Linked DNA regions of Homo sapiens: region 1 is linked to region 2. The links are contacts of gene promoters, found by promoter capture Hi-C in blood cells and fetal thymus (Javierre and others, 2016). All regions are on one chromosome and are shown on one strand. The core of a region is centred on a gene start or on the middle of the fragment in contact, and the rest is flanking DNA. Distances in the headings are between cores, read along the strand shown.

Region 1 (7,637 bases), core at 5,016-7,515, about 14 Mb after region 2:
GAACCGGGGAGGCGGAGGTTGCAGTGAGCTGAGGTTGCGCCACTGCACTCCAGCCTGGACGACAGAGCAAGACTCTGTCTCAGAAAAAAAAAAAAAAAAAAGAAAGAAAGAAAGAAAAAAAAAATTGGTTGGGCGCAGTGGCTCACTCCTGTAATCCTAGCACTTTGGGAGGCCAAGTCGGGTGGATCACTTGAGGTCAGGAGTTTGAGGCCATCCTGGCCAACATGGTGAAACCCCATCTCTACTAAAAGTACAAAAATTAGCTGGGTATGGTGGCACGTGCCTGTAAGTCCCAGCTACTCGGGAGGCTAAGACACGAGAATCACTTAAACCGGAGAGGCAGAGGTTGCAGTGAGCCAAGATCACACCACTGCATTCCAGCTTAGGCAACAGAGTGAGACTCTGTCTCAAAAAATAAAATAAAATATTTTTTAAATCATAAAATCTAGGTACAAGGGACCACTGGGGAAAAAAATCACAGAATCTTGGATTTGGAAGGGTCCTTAGAGATCTAGTGTACATTCAAATCTGATGACAAAATCCCTTCTACAATATCCCTTACAGTGAAATGGTCAACCATTCTTTGCTTCAACATATTTGGTGACAGAAAACACTTTTTCAAAGCCAACTTTTTGATTGTTAGGATAGCTTTGTGAATACTTACTTATAATGAGCCAAAATCTGCCTCCCATTTGTCCTGGTTTGACCCTCTACTACATGACATTTCTTCAAATTTAAACACCACTGCTCCCTAAAGGTTTTGCTAAACCAAACCACCTCCATCCCTTCAAAGCACCATGTAAGATGCTGATCCTCTTGTTATCTTCATCACTCTTATCCAATAATCTTTAGTTTTACACTGCCACCCTGAAAGCATTTAACCAAAGCTAAATATAATATTAATAAAAATATTTTTGTAACAGCACAATCGAATCTTTCCCCTCCTACAGCCTAAGATCTCATTAACCAGAATGTAATACAGCCAAGCATCAAGATCTACTGCAATCCAAAAGAACCTTCAGTGATGGCAGATCTATTCTCTATCTGCACTGTCCAACAGGGTGGGCACTAGCTCCATGTGGCTACTGAGCTCTTGAAATGTGGCTAATATGACTAAAGATATAAATTTTTAATTTTATTTATTTATGTATTTATTTTGAGGCAGTTTCGCTTTTTCACCCAGGCTGGGGTACAATGGAGCGATCTCAGGTCACTGCAAACTCCACTCCCCGGGTTCAAGCGATTCTCCTGCTTCAGCCTCCGAGTAGCTGGGATTATAGGCTCCTGTCACCATGCCCAGCTAATTTTTGTATTTTTAGTAGAGACGGGTTTTCGCATTGTTGGCCAGGCTGGTCTGGTACCCCTGACCTCAGGTGATCCACCCACCTCGGCCTCCCAAAGTGCTAGGATTACAGGCATGACCCACCACGCCCGGCCAATTTTATTTATTTTTATATAATTTAAATTTAAATATATACATAGGATTTCAAGTTTACTTACTAGTACCTATCCATAAGACTGGTTTGAAATAAGTCAAAATGAGAAGGCCTCTGGACTTTGAGGCTCCAATTTCTTAGGATTTTACCAGCTGGTTCTATTTTTCCCATGTGCATACAAAAGTAGTGGAATATTAAGAGTAAATGCTGGCTGGGCGCAGGGGCTCATGCCTATAATCCCAGCAATATTGGAGACTGAGGCGGGTGGATCACTTGAGCCCAGGGGTTTGAGACCTGCCTGGGCAACATGACAAAACCCCGTCTCTACCAAAAAAAAAAAAAAAAAAAAAAAAAAAAAAAAGCCAGTCATGGTGGTGTGCATCTGTAGTCCCAGTTACTCGGGAGGCTGAGATGGAGGAGTCGCTTGAACCCAGGAAACAGAGGTTGCAGTGAGCTAAGATCACGCCACGGCACTCCAGCTTGGGCGACAGAAAGAGGCTCTGTCTCAAAAAAAAAAAAAGGGAAAGAATAAATGCTCTTTTCTACTAGCAACACCTACTAGTGGCTAAGAACTGGTGCTGTAGATAGAAAATAATTTCATTATTTACAAAAGTAAATGCTTTTAGGATATAAAAACTACAAATCATAATTCTTGCATATTCAAATGCCTACTAAAAATCTCGACTTAAATGTCTTATAAGAAAAGCATTCCTCAAAATAATCTGATCTCCCACAGTCCCCTCCTCACAGAATAAACGTGGCTGCTCACTCACTCACCATTTCCAATTTAGAAAATGGCAAATCATTCCAGTTGCCAAGGCCTAAAACCTTGGTGTTGGATCCTTGCCTCCAATCTTTTCTCCCAGATCCTAAATCCAAATCTGGAATTCGCTATTTCTTCTGCCTGGAATGCTTATCCCAAGTCTACCTGCGTGATATGTGTCTACTCCTCCAGCAAATCTTTGGTCTAATGATACCTTACTGAGGCCTTCTCTACAACTATAAACCTACTGCCCCACACACTCTGTCCTCCCTCCCTACTTTGTCACTTATCATGTGACATACTATACTTGGCTGCTCCCATTAGAAGCTACAAGAGGGAGTGGATGTTTGTTTTGTTCACTGCTGTATCCCCAGTGCCTGTCATATAGAAAGCACTAAAATATCAGCTGACTAAATGACAAATTCCATAAACATTATATATGTAAAATGACAAAATCAAGAATGCAAAAGAAACATAAGTAGAAACAATTGATCATTAGGGGAATGGACTGAATTATTTTTACAAATAAAAATAGATAAAAGAACAATTGCTTTCAGTGGTCAGTACAGTAGTTTCCCTTTACCCACAGGAAATACGGTCCAAGACCCTTAATAGATGCCTGAAACCGCATACAATACCAAAGCCCATACAGCCCATACAGATACTCAACATTTTTTTTTTTTTGAGACAAAGTATTGCTCCATCACCCAGGCTCGAGTGCAGTGGCATGATCTTGGCTTACTGCACCCTCAACCTCTCGGGCTCAAGTGATCCTCCCATCTCAGCCTCCCACGTAGCTCATGTAGCTGAGACTACAGGCATGCACCATAATGCCCAGCTAATTTTGTTTATTTTTTGTAGAGAAAATGACAAATGTTATTTTCACTATGTTGCCTAGGCTGGTCTCAAACTCCTGGACTGAAGCGATCCTCCTGACTCAGCCTCCCAAAGTTCTGAGATTACAGGTGTGAGCCACCGCACTCGGCCTTCCTTAACTTATAACAGGTTTATTATGACAGGTTTACATCCAGTAAAGTAAAAAACTTGTAAGTCAAACCACTGTTAAGTCAGGGACCATCTGTATGTTGTTTTCTTCCTATACGTAACATACCTATAATAAAGTTTAGTTTATAAATTAGGCACAATTAAGAAATTAACAAAAATAATGAATAAAATAGAACAAGTATCATTACATGCCAGCACCATTATTCTTGCACTTTGGGTCCATTATTAAGTAAAATAAGGATTATTTGGACACAAGCCCTGTGATACTATGACAGTCACTGCTAACCAAATAGGCTACTAAGTGACAAACGGGCAGGTGTAGACAGCATAGATATGCTGAACAAAGGGATGATTCATGTCACGGGCAGGATCAAGTGGGACGTCCAGAGAGTTCCTCACGCTACTCAAAACAGCACACAATTTAAAACTTATGAATTGCTTGTTTCAGGAATTTCCCATTTAATATTTTCAGACCTCAGTTGACTTGGGGTAACTGAAACTTCAGAAAGCAAAACCATGGGATAAGGGAGGGACTACTCTATAGCATTTGAAGCCTATCCATTAAGTTAACATCCCACAAACCCTCTGGTTTAAATACCCCTGCTCCAGAACATCACCTCACCTACTCTGGCTATCTTCCTAAATTTTACCATGGCTTGAAATTATCTCAATACGAGTAGGAAGTAAACTCTAATATAAACATTATTTAAATAGTCACATTCCCTGGATTAAGCAGGCTCACGGTTTCAAATTAAGCTAATTTGTTTCACGAGCACATTACCAGTCCATAATCATAAAATAATTGTATTTTTTCATTTCTAGAGACCTGTGCTGTCCAATATGGTAACTACTGGATACATGTGGTTATTTCATTAAGTTAATTTTTTAAAAAATTGAATTTCGGTTCTTCAGTTGTCCACATTTCAAATGTTAAATGCCACATGTAGCTAGTAGCTACCACACTGGACAATATAGAGAACATCACCAAGCACTCTATAGGGCAAGACTGCTATAGACTTTTTCTAAAACATTATTCTAAAGCATAAAACTGATTTAGCTGATATGCTGGCAGAATTCAACCTTATAATTTTCAATTCTCCATGTCACTGGTTCTCAAAATGTGGTCCCTGGACCAGCAGTGGCACCACTTACAAATCTGTTAGAAATACAAATTCTCAAGCTCCGGCAATCTGTATTTTGAAAAGCTCTCCAGGTGATTCAGGAGATTTTGAAGCATGCTCAAGTTTTAGTCACTGTTCTAAGTTACTTAAGAGTGGTTATAATATAAGCCATGACATAAGAAATCTACCATTACAATCTGAAATATTCTATAAATGATGCATCAACTATGAAATCATACAACCACAGTCCTATTATGATAGATTTTAATACAAAAGGAAAACAAAATATTCTTAACAAATTATATTAAGCTTCATTTCTTAAAAACAAAACAAAACAAAACAAAAAAAACTATTGGCCAGGTGTGGTGGATCATGCCTGTAATCCCAGCACTTTGGGAGGCTGAGGCAGGCAGATCACCTGAGGTTGGGAATTCAAGACCAGCTGACCAACATGGAGAAACCTTGTCTCTACTAAAAATACAAAATTAGCTGGGTGTGGTGGCGCCTGCCTGTAATCCCAGCTACTCGGGAGGCTGAGGCCAGAGAATTGCTTGAACCTGGGAAGCAGAGGTTGTGGTGAGCTGAGATCGTGCCATTGCACTCCAGCCTGGGCAATAAGAGCGAAACTCTGTCTCAAAAAAAAAAAACCATTAAAAATGTAATTTCCTTCCCCTTCTAGTAAGCAGGCCCCTTTTCATTTCAACATCAACACAATCACATTTTTATATTTTTCTAAGATTTCAATTAAAAGCCTTTAATTTAGGAAGAATATACACAGTAGAATAATGAGGAAGGAAGGCAATATTTTCAAATTTTATGTCAATTACAATTTTCACATGAGCAAGTATTACTTTTATAATAAGCTAATAAAAAGAAATCTATTAGCTAGAATTACCTCAGCAAGAAGTTGAAACTAAAGTTGCACAAGTGTTACAAAAGAGGCTAAACAACTATTCTACTCTAATTTCCTCTTACCAATCATAAATCTAGTATAAAACTATTTGCAAAATCAACATCTATGTATATTAAATATTCCTTATTAAATTTCCTGACAGAAAAACATCCTTAGAAATTTCAGCTAAGAACAGTAATGCAATACATTAAAGTGATTATGAAACCACCGGGAAAAGATCTATCTAGTCTTGGCTTACCACAAATTTGGCCCAAAAAAGGAGAGACTTTAAGAGCCTGATTGATTACAAATTTCTGCCACAGCCAAGTGCCTACTATGATAACCTACCGGTGGAAAATTACTTAATCACAATTTGTGTACAAAATGTTTCAGGTACATATACTGCAATAGAAGGCACTGAGATCATGTTAAGGGATTTCGTAAAAAATATTTACAACATATTGAGCTTATGTGCCATCCATGAGAACCCAAATCATACTTCATACTACTGTTGTAGCACATAAATGTCCATTTCCAATCAAGCATCATTCCATAAAATGAACCTGACAATGCTTGACAAAATATTGACATCTAGGCTGGGCGTGGTGGCTCACACCTGTAATTCAAGCACTTTGGGAGGCCGAGGCAGGCAGATCACCTTAGGTCAAGAGTTTGAGACCAGCCTGGCCAACATAGTGAAACCCCGTTTCTACTAAAAATACTAAAAATTAGCCAGGCGTGGTAGTGGGTGCCTGTAATCCCAGCTACTCGGGAGGCTGAGGCAGAAGAATCGCTTGAACCCAGGAGGCAGAGGTTGCAGTGAGCCAAGATCACGCCATTGCACTCCAGCTTGGGAAACAAGAGCAAAACTCTGTCTCAAAAAAAAAAAATGTTGACATCTAAACATTCACCATGGCCAGGTGCGGTGGCTCACTCTTGTAATCCCAAAATTTTGGGAGCCTGAGTCCAACAAATTGCTTGAGTCCAGGAGTTCAAGACCAGCCTGGGCAACATAGCAAGACCCCATCTCATAAACTACCAAAAAAAAAAAAAAAACCCTAAAAATTAGCCTGGTATGGTGGCACCACTGTACTCAGGAGGCTGAAGTGGGAAAATCGCTTGAGCACAGAAAGCAGGGGTTGCAGTGAGCCGAGCTCACACCACTGCACTCCAACCTGGGTGACAGTGAAACCCTGTCTAAAAAAAAAAAATAATCAACATTCTCTCTTACCAAACACTAAAGACTCAGTTTCCACATTAAGTATTGTCCCCCCACCAAAAAAAAATCCAAAATGACTAATATATCAAGTACCGGCCTGGCGCGGTGGCTCACGCCTATAATCCCAGCACTTTGGGAGGCCGAGGTGGGCAGATCATGAAGTCAGGAGTTCGACATCAGCCTGGCCAACATAGTGAAACCCCTTCTCTACTAAAAATACAAAAATTAGCCAGGCGTGCTGGCAGGCGCCTGTAGTCCCAGCCACTCAGGAGGCTGAGACAGGACAATTGTTTGAACCTGGGAGGCGGAGGTTGCAGTGAGCTAAGACCGCGCCATTGCACTCCAGTCTGGGCTACAGAGGGAGTCTCTGTCTCAAAAAAAAAAAAAAAAAAAAAAAGTACCAACCATGTGCCAAACAGTACTCCTAATTTCTCTCAATTACCTTTGTCTGTCTAGCACAGATTTAGGCATATAACGGACATTTAATGGGCATTTATGAAAAAAAGGGATGACTGTTAAATTCTTAGAGAAAATTCAAAAAAAAATTTTTTTTTTGAGGCGGAGTTTCCTCCCTTGTTGCCCAGGCTGGAGTGCAGTGGCAAGATCTTGGCTCACTGCAACCTCCCCGTCCCGGGTTCACGCGATTCTCCTGCCTCAGCCTCACAAGTAGCTGGGATTACAGGCAGGCACCACCACGCCCGGCTAATTTTTGTATTTTTAGTAGAGATGGGGTTTCACCATGTCGGCCTGGCTGGTCTCGAACTCCTGAACTCAGGTAATCCACCCGCCTCGGCCTCCCAAAGTGCTGGCATTACAGGCGTGAGCCAATGAGCCCGGCCAAAAAAAATTTTTTTTAATGGTGCCAGCCGTTAAGGAAATTACAAATCGAGTTGAGAAATAAGACAAACACATGAAAAGCTAAGTAACACAGGACAATTAAAAATACCATGTGACAAGATATGATTACTGCATAGTAGCGAATAATGCTATAAATTCTGACCAGTGAGTTTATTATAGACTGCGGCCCTTGTAGTCTCCCAACAAAACGGGGACGCTATATTTCGATTTAAAAAAAGAAAGTGACACAGCACTCATCCTATCCTAAAATTATCATCAGAAGAAGGAATACAGTAACTAAGGAGAGTGATATAAAGAAACTCCACATAAGGTTTTTAAAGCCTATGGTAGCCCTGAAAAAAGT
Region 2 (7,145 bases), core at 4,378-6,877:
GAAAGAAGTGATTATAAATAGTAGCTTCCTTCTTGCTACAACTAATTCAAGGACTGTGTACAAAAGCAATATCTTAGTTTCTAAAGAACAGATTATTTCACCTTAAAATCTGTTTGTTACAGATGATGATTACTGACAACAGTAATTGCTTCTTCAGACAAAAAGAAAACCTTTTTGTAAGAAATCTGTATAGCAAGAGTCCTCTCAATACCAACCACCATATAATTCTTAAGTCAAGGCTTTTGTAAATGAATTCTCAGGAAAAAAAAAAATTATGGTAAGAAAACCTTATGATACATCCAATAACAGAGGCAGAAGAAGTGAAAATAAACATTAACATGAAAAAATAGCAACTATTTAAGCAAGTTTTAACGAAATATTTTTACTCATATATTTAAAGGAGAGGGAGCAGGCAGGGTATAAACTAAACTGAGGTCAGACAGAAAGTTTACTGTAAACACAAAAAGACCATCAGAAAATGAAAATATATTTTCAAATCAGTAATACGGCATTCTAATCCATCTGCTCTCTTTTTCTGAGCCACACACTAATTTTTCTGATATCCACGATAAAAAGATTGACTGTTCTTCCTCATTACACATTTTTTATTTCCCTATCAGCAGCTTTAAGCCCACCTCCACCTAAAAAATTGAAAACTCAAAATCAGCTTTTAAAATACTAGTTCTCCATTTTCCCCTAATACAGGATTGTTAAGTCTAATAGACCGTACTCTTCACCTTCTCGATTCTAAATTACAAAACTTTATTATAACAATTTGCATTCAACTACTGTTGTTTCATTCTCATGACAAGAAAAGTCTGTTTTTTTAAAAACCATATATTAACTGCTCTAAGGGTTCAGTTGAAAACGTCTCTCTAAAGGTAGAGCAGTTTAAGACCTAGGTTTTATGTGTAATCCTATAATCATCTCTATCTTCAATAAAAGGTTTCAAACTCAAGTTTATGTCCTTTATATTTTATGATGGGCCCAACCTAAAATGTATTCACAACTTTAAAAAACAACCGTGTTGAAGATACTTCAGTGGAAGAGCTGGCACACACACCCCCACCACCAGCAACAGCAAAAAACAAAACAAAACAAAAACAAGCAGTAAAACAAAAGGACTGTCCACAGTCAAGATACAGACTAAAGGTTAACTTGGCAAGGAATTAAAATACTCATTCTAAAACATCCAAGTCTTCATCAACTGGGAAAACCAGCACACTTAATCCTCAAATTTGTAACTAGCCAAATGGAAATTCTTAGGCTGACAAGCATATTTTTAAAAAGCTTATTCTTTGAAAAATATTTTAAAATAAAAAATTTAAAATCTCATTTAAAATTCCTAATTATCAGAAAATACATCTACTCTAAGCACGATGTTAACTTCATCAAACCAATCACTAAAGTAAAATTTTTACTAAATTTTATCTAAATTTAAAAGTAATTTTTCAGCCAAGCATTATAGGCAAAAAAAAAAAAGTAATGCCTAACCAGAAACAAAAGTCATGATCAATTTGTTTTGGACAATGACAAACCACAAAGGGGTAAAGCACAAGATGCCAAATTTCACAATTAAATCATCCAGAAAAAAAAATGTGATGGACTTCAGAAACCAATATTTTTCTTAAGTCAAATTAAGTTTATAACAAGGCTAACAATTACAGGAAGCCGCTTATTCCACACTAAGGAATAGCCCTTTTTCCTGCATGTTTGTACTGGTCTGATAAAAAACAATCAAACTTCCTCGTCATTATATTGCCCATTTTAAACATACTATATGCCACACAGAAGCAATCTTTACACTGGGGAATTGACAAGGCTAAAACTAAAGATAGCAAGACAAGAGATGGAGTAAACCACATTAAAAGGGGAAGGGGAAACAAACATTATCTAGGAGATATCATAGTGGTCTCTTACATTTAAAACGCAAACGAGTACTATTTCCAACCAGAGAGAAATAAGCCTTTGTCAGAGACAATGACATAATTGAAATTTCTGGATTTGAAAGATTAAAAATTATTAAAGCCTAAGGTTGGAAACTTGATAACAAGGAATCAGCTCTAAATTTAGAGATTTTAGATCAACATAAAAGCACAAGAAGCCTTTTAAAACTAAAGAACGCAAAAGTATGCAGCTTTTTAAATAGTATACATAAGGTGAAAGTATTTTCAAACTTTTTTTTGGAATCTCCTATAGTCTTTGAATTCGACATTTCAGGAATGCAATTTAATTTTAATTAACCCTAAATATTGCCAAGGCCTATTTTCATTTTATCGTCGATAAAGGATTCCTTCTAAACAACTGCACTCAAGAAAACAAACTTTCACCAGAAATTGTTACTAATACTACTAAAACTTTAACTTAACCAAAATATGCCAAGGAGAAGACAGTAAGAGTGTTATTTTGAAACGTCATAAAGTTGTGCCAATAATTTTAAGGAAAGTATTTTCAATGTTCGAAAACACTATATAAACACATTATGACAAATCAAATAATCTATAACTTAAGTTTCAACTAAATTTAATATAGGTCAGTCAGATTGAGTATGTTACACATTTTGTTCCAACCATTTCCATGGTTAAAAAATAACTGGCGCCCCTTAGCGCTCACATTTGGAAATACTCAATTTAAGAGTTCCAGCATTTTTTTTTTTTTTTTGACATTCCAGAAAGTTTTCTGCCTCCACAATCTTTCAAATGCCAACACAAATAGGAAAAGCAGAACCCCTTAAAGGGACAGCTCAGGTTTTCTCTGGAGCAACTTGAAATTAACAGATTTGCTGTTCCAACAGCGGAAAATGCCCATTTCAACGTTGGTGAGTGCTGTATGTTTAACATACGGAAGCAAAACGACGAGAAAGCCGTAACACCTAACCATTTTCTACTTTTAAGTTGTTTCTATGACTTTCAAGACAACAGAACTCCTGGGATTTTTCTTTAACCATTTTTTATCATGGAAACATTTCCGGCCTTTTGTTCTCTAGTGACATTCCAACTCCCCAAGCTTCAAACTCCTGTTCCCCGACTCTATTTTTAAAATCTCGAAATTCTTGCGAAAAATCTAAACTCCATTGTTCATCTCTTCAACCTGTAGTTTTCAGTTTCCTTTACACAGTCCTCCGGTGGTGCCTCTAAGCAGGAAAAAAAAACAAACAAACTCCTGGCCAGTCGATTTTCGAAACAGACTTTTTTTGTGGTCTTTTTTTTCTCTAGGCGTCCACAGAAACCCACAGCTACTAGAAATTAATACTTCAGGTACTGCTATGAGAACTTCTTAAGGAAATTCCAAAGTTGGTCAACATTAATCTTCTTGTCATTCTTCACTCCCCACAGCGCTCCATACAGCTTTTTGGAAACTTTGGCTCAATTTTATTTCGCCCTTTCCAAACGTCTCGAAACCCTGTCCTACAAACTCAGGCGGCTGCGTCCCCGGGAGCAAACCCTCCGCCCAAGTTCTTCTAACTCAGGCTGCGCTCCGATCTGTCATCGCGTTATTTCGCACTCCACCCCCCCCCCCCCCACCCCCGAAAAGTGAAGTTCAACTCCCTAACAGTTCTCGCTTCCCCAAACAAAAGGGAAAAAAGTGCTTTTCGCCGTCACTTAGTCCTCCTTGTCGGCTACGCCAGCATAATTTCGGTCTCCTACGGAATTTCTTTAAACTAACGAGCCCCACACTGACTTCCACTTAGTATTGAACAGCTGCACCAACTCCCCAACCACGAAACCCCGCTTTAGTCCTCACGGGAGGGGAGAGCTCCCGAACGCGGGGCGGTGGGGGTCCGCGCAGAGCAGGCTCGGGAGGCCGAGCGGAGGAGCGGGGCCCGCGCCGGGCACACGCGTCCTCCAGGCCGGCGGCGCGGCGTGGGCCTGCTCTCGGGAGGGCTCGGCGAGGACCACCGAGTCCGCGCAGCCCCCGCCGACCTCTCGGAAATGTGACCGCCGAAGCTAGAGGGGCCGCAGGGCTCACCCCGCAGCCCTCCGCAACGCGCCAACTTGGACGCCAGCGGCGCGGGGTCCCGGCCGGGCAGGGGGCGTCCGGCACCGGCGGGTCCACCCCGGCCCGCCCGCCCGCCGCAAGCCCGGCCCGGCACCTCCTTTGTGCGCCCTCCTGGCCTCCCAGTCCCCCCGGCGCTCGGTCCCGCCCGGCCGTGACCTTCCCGCCCTCCCCACCATCCCAAGCGGGGAAAGGGGCCGCCCCGGCGGGGGTCGGGCCGGGGCCGGGGCCCTGGAGACGCTCACCTTCGTCCAGCAGCCGCTCGAGGTGGTTGAAGATCCCGCAGAAGTTGGGCAGGCTGCTCATGAGCTTCTTGTCGTTCATCAGCTGCATCAGGTAATCTGGGGTGGGCTTCGGCTTCTCCTTCGTTTCCATTTCCCCGACCATATTCCAGGCTCCGCAGCTCACTCCGCCCGCCGCCGCCGCCGCCGCCGCCGGAGAGGAGGGAGGGGCGGGGGCGAGCCCCGGCCGCGGGCCGCTCGGGACCCGGCGTCCCGCTCCGCGCCGGCTCCCGCTCTGGCTCCCGCGCCGAGCCCCGGGGCGGCCGGCACCGCGCGCTCGCCCGCCCCCCGCAGGCACTTTCCGCCCGGGCCCGACGCGCTCCCAGCCGCCGCCGCTCTCGGCCGCCCGGCTCGGCGCGTCCCTCACGAGGCCGGCGGGCGGGCGGGAGGCGGGTCTCGGCTGGCCGAGTGCGGGCGCGGGGCGCGGGCTGCTGGCGCCGGACGAGGAGGAGCCGGGGCCGCCGCTCGCTCGGCTGGTCGAGCCCGCTCAGCGCCGCCGCCGCCTGTGCCGCGGGCTCGGGGGGTCTCTCTGGGCTGGTCCCCGCCGCGGCGCCTCTGCCGCTGCCGCCGCGCTCCGACTGCGCTCCTCCTCTTCCTCCTCCTCCTTCTCCTCCTCCTCCTCCTCACTCACTTGGCGGCGGAGTTCGCCTCAGTTCAGGCGGCGCTGCCAGCGGCGGCGGCAGCAGCGGCGGCGGCGGGGGGAGGGGCAGCGGCGCGGGGAGGGCCGGGGGCGGGCGGCGGGCGGGGCCGCGCAGGGCGGCCGTTAGCGGGTCCCGGCCGGCGCGCTCCCGCTGCCTGCTGCCCGCCGCCCCGCGACCGGGGCAGCCGCCGGCGCCGCGCCCCCTCCTCCCTGCCTCCCCGGCGGGGCGGGCGACGGGGGCAACGGGAGTGTGACGGACTGCGGCGCTCGGCGGGCCTGGGCGCAAGGACTGGGTCGCCGCCGTGCGGGGCGCCCGGGGCGGGTGGGTGTGGGCTGCGGGGCCGACGGCCGCGGGGGGGGCGCGGGGCTTTCCACGGCACGGGGCGGGTGGGGCTGCGGGCGCGGTCGGGGCTGGCGCGGCAGGCGAGAGGAATTCCAGCGGGACGCGCCAGCGCTGCCTCCGCCTCGCCTCCCGTTACTATAGTTTTTTCAGAACCTCTTATCCACCCCGCAGAAGAGAAATTTTTTTTTAACGTCCTGTTGCTTCACGGGGGACTTTCGGGGTGGGCATCACGTGGCCCGACACGTAGCCGTGGGGCTCCAGAGCGCGTGCGCGCGTCGAGCCCGGTCGCCACGCCCCTTCCGAGGGTCGCTCCGCCCCCGTCGGGCCCCGCGAGCGCGCGGTGGGGGAGGGGAGGGCCCCGGAGCGCGCCTGCGTGGGGCGGGGGCGGCAGCCGACTAGGGGCTGGGTCTGGCCGTTTAGGGCCGGGTCTTGGCCCGTCGCCCACGGTGCGGAGGGCTGGTGGGCTTTCCTTGGCCGTCGGGCCCGCCACGGCGCGGGTCTTGGCTGCGGGGCGGAGGTGGGGCGGGAGAGCCGAGGATAAGAGTTTGAGGCTTTTCGAGGCGCGTGCCGCGGCGTCCGCCTCTGCGGGACTCTGCGCCGGGCGCCCTCGGCCGGCGCGCCCGGCTCCCGCTTTGTCGCCGAGGGAAGCACGCGCGACGCCCCTCCCGTCGCCGCCGTGGCTTCTTTCGGTGTTCGTGATTTGCTGAGAGGCTGGAAAGCAGCACGGCGGAGAGGAGCCTTGCACTCGCCAGGCGGGAAGCCTGCGCGGACACGCGTGCGCACCCACGGGGCGGCGGGCGGGCGTGGGGGGTCCGGGCCACGCGGGCGACGCGCCTCTAGGGAAGCGATCTTGTTGCACCTTCCCGTTATTCTGAAAGCAAATCGTAGCCAGACCCGAGCGCAGCGGCTTAGCAAATAATAAGGGGAGCGTCAGTCGTGCTCGAAATGCTTCCTTCGCGATGGCGTCAGTGTTCCGTGAGGGAATGAAGCCGCAGTAGGAAATAAAGAGGCTGTGCGCGTAGTCTGAAAAGCAGAAGTCAACATTTTTACAGATGAAGAAAGAATACGGAGGCAAGAGGTCTTTCTCTGCAGTTTGGTGGATTTCCAACATTTAGACTTGTTTGGAAGAATTTCCTCAGCTGCACCAATGAAGTCCTTGATCTATAGAAGTCGGCAGTCCCTAAATCTACGTCTGCATTTTGTTGCAAATCCTTTATAACATTCCATTAAAATAATGCAGAGTTATTTAATATCCAGTTGGCCATCGTGAGAGTAATTCGCGGCTGAGATTTTGTTAATCATTCTGTCTTCTGACTTAACAGTGAACGTAGGTGATTTTTTTTGTAAAATGTTGCTTCACATGAATTGTGAGAATCACCTCTAAGTTTGAATTGTACTGAAGGCACTATAAGAATTTCAAATGAACGCTGAGTAGCCAGTAGCCTTCTGGCCTTTTCGTTTAACAAGCACAGAGTTCGTTTTTAAAATTAAGTTACTTTGACAGAGGAAATGTAATAGCCTTGGTAGACAACATTAAAAATGTAACTGTCAGATGTTTTAAAGTCTCCAACAGCCGTATCTGTTTTAGAGCCATAGAATATTTACTTACTGAATTGCCTGTTTAAAGATGAACTTTCTAAATGCAGGGAATAGTAACTTGCAAAAAAGCTATGGTCTCTAAGTAATGAAGGCTGTTTCAGTACCTAGAAAAATCAAAATCAAGGTTTTGATGCTGCTAGTGTAAAAGATGCAATCCCCTTCTTAATGGCCTGCTTATTTATTAAGCTCCTAGGCACTATGCTGAATGCCCTACATGCATATCTCGTTTAATCATCAGTACAACTTGGGCTTAGGTTAGACTGTTATCCCCATTTTACAAATAAGG

Evidence for each region. The method cuts DNA at HindIII sites, captures the fragments that hold promoters and counts their contacts. A CHiCAGO score of 5 or more calls a contact.
Region 1: a contact is called between a fragment that was not itself captured here and the fragment with the promoter of CAHM in region 2, in 1 of 17 cell types (fetal thymus). The highest score is 6.1, in fetal thymus.

Annotation. Positions count from the first base shown.
Region 1 is chr6:149,750,673-149,758,309 of GRCh38, reverse strand. The region is part of intron 1 of PCMT1 (protein-L-isoaspartate (D-aspartate) O-methyltransferase); the gene reads right to left. Among named protein-coding and RNA genes, the nearest start is that of PCMT1, 4.8 kb to the right of the region's middle. RefSeq lists enhancers at 6,633-7,135, 7,136-7,637. The HindIII fragment of the contact is 3,257 bases long and covers 4,637-7,637 here.
Region 2 is chr6:163,412,432-163,419,576 of GRCh38, reverse strand. CAHM (colon adenocarcinoma hypermethylated) reads left to right here and starts at 5,627. Exons shown (of 1, transcript NR_037593.1): 1 at 5,627-6,512. QKI (QKI, KH domain containing RNA binding) reads right to left here and starts at 4,859. Exons shown (of 8, transcript NM_006775.3): 1 at 4,242-4,859. The coding sequence starts at 4,383. It overlaps LOC124901234 (basic proline-rich protein-like), which reads right to left. Exons shown (of 4, transcript XM_047419614.1): 2 at 5,492-6,963; 3 at 4,909-5,328; 4 at 4,401-4,612. The coding sequence starts at 6,371. The coding sequence ends at 4,401. RefSeq lists silencers at 3,841-4,030, 4,231-4,280, 4,531-5,350, 5,441-6,220 and enhancers at 4,301-4,954, 4,955-5,607. The HindIII fragment of the contact is 4,236 bases long and covers 3,009-7,145 here.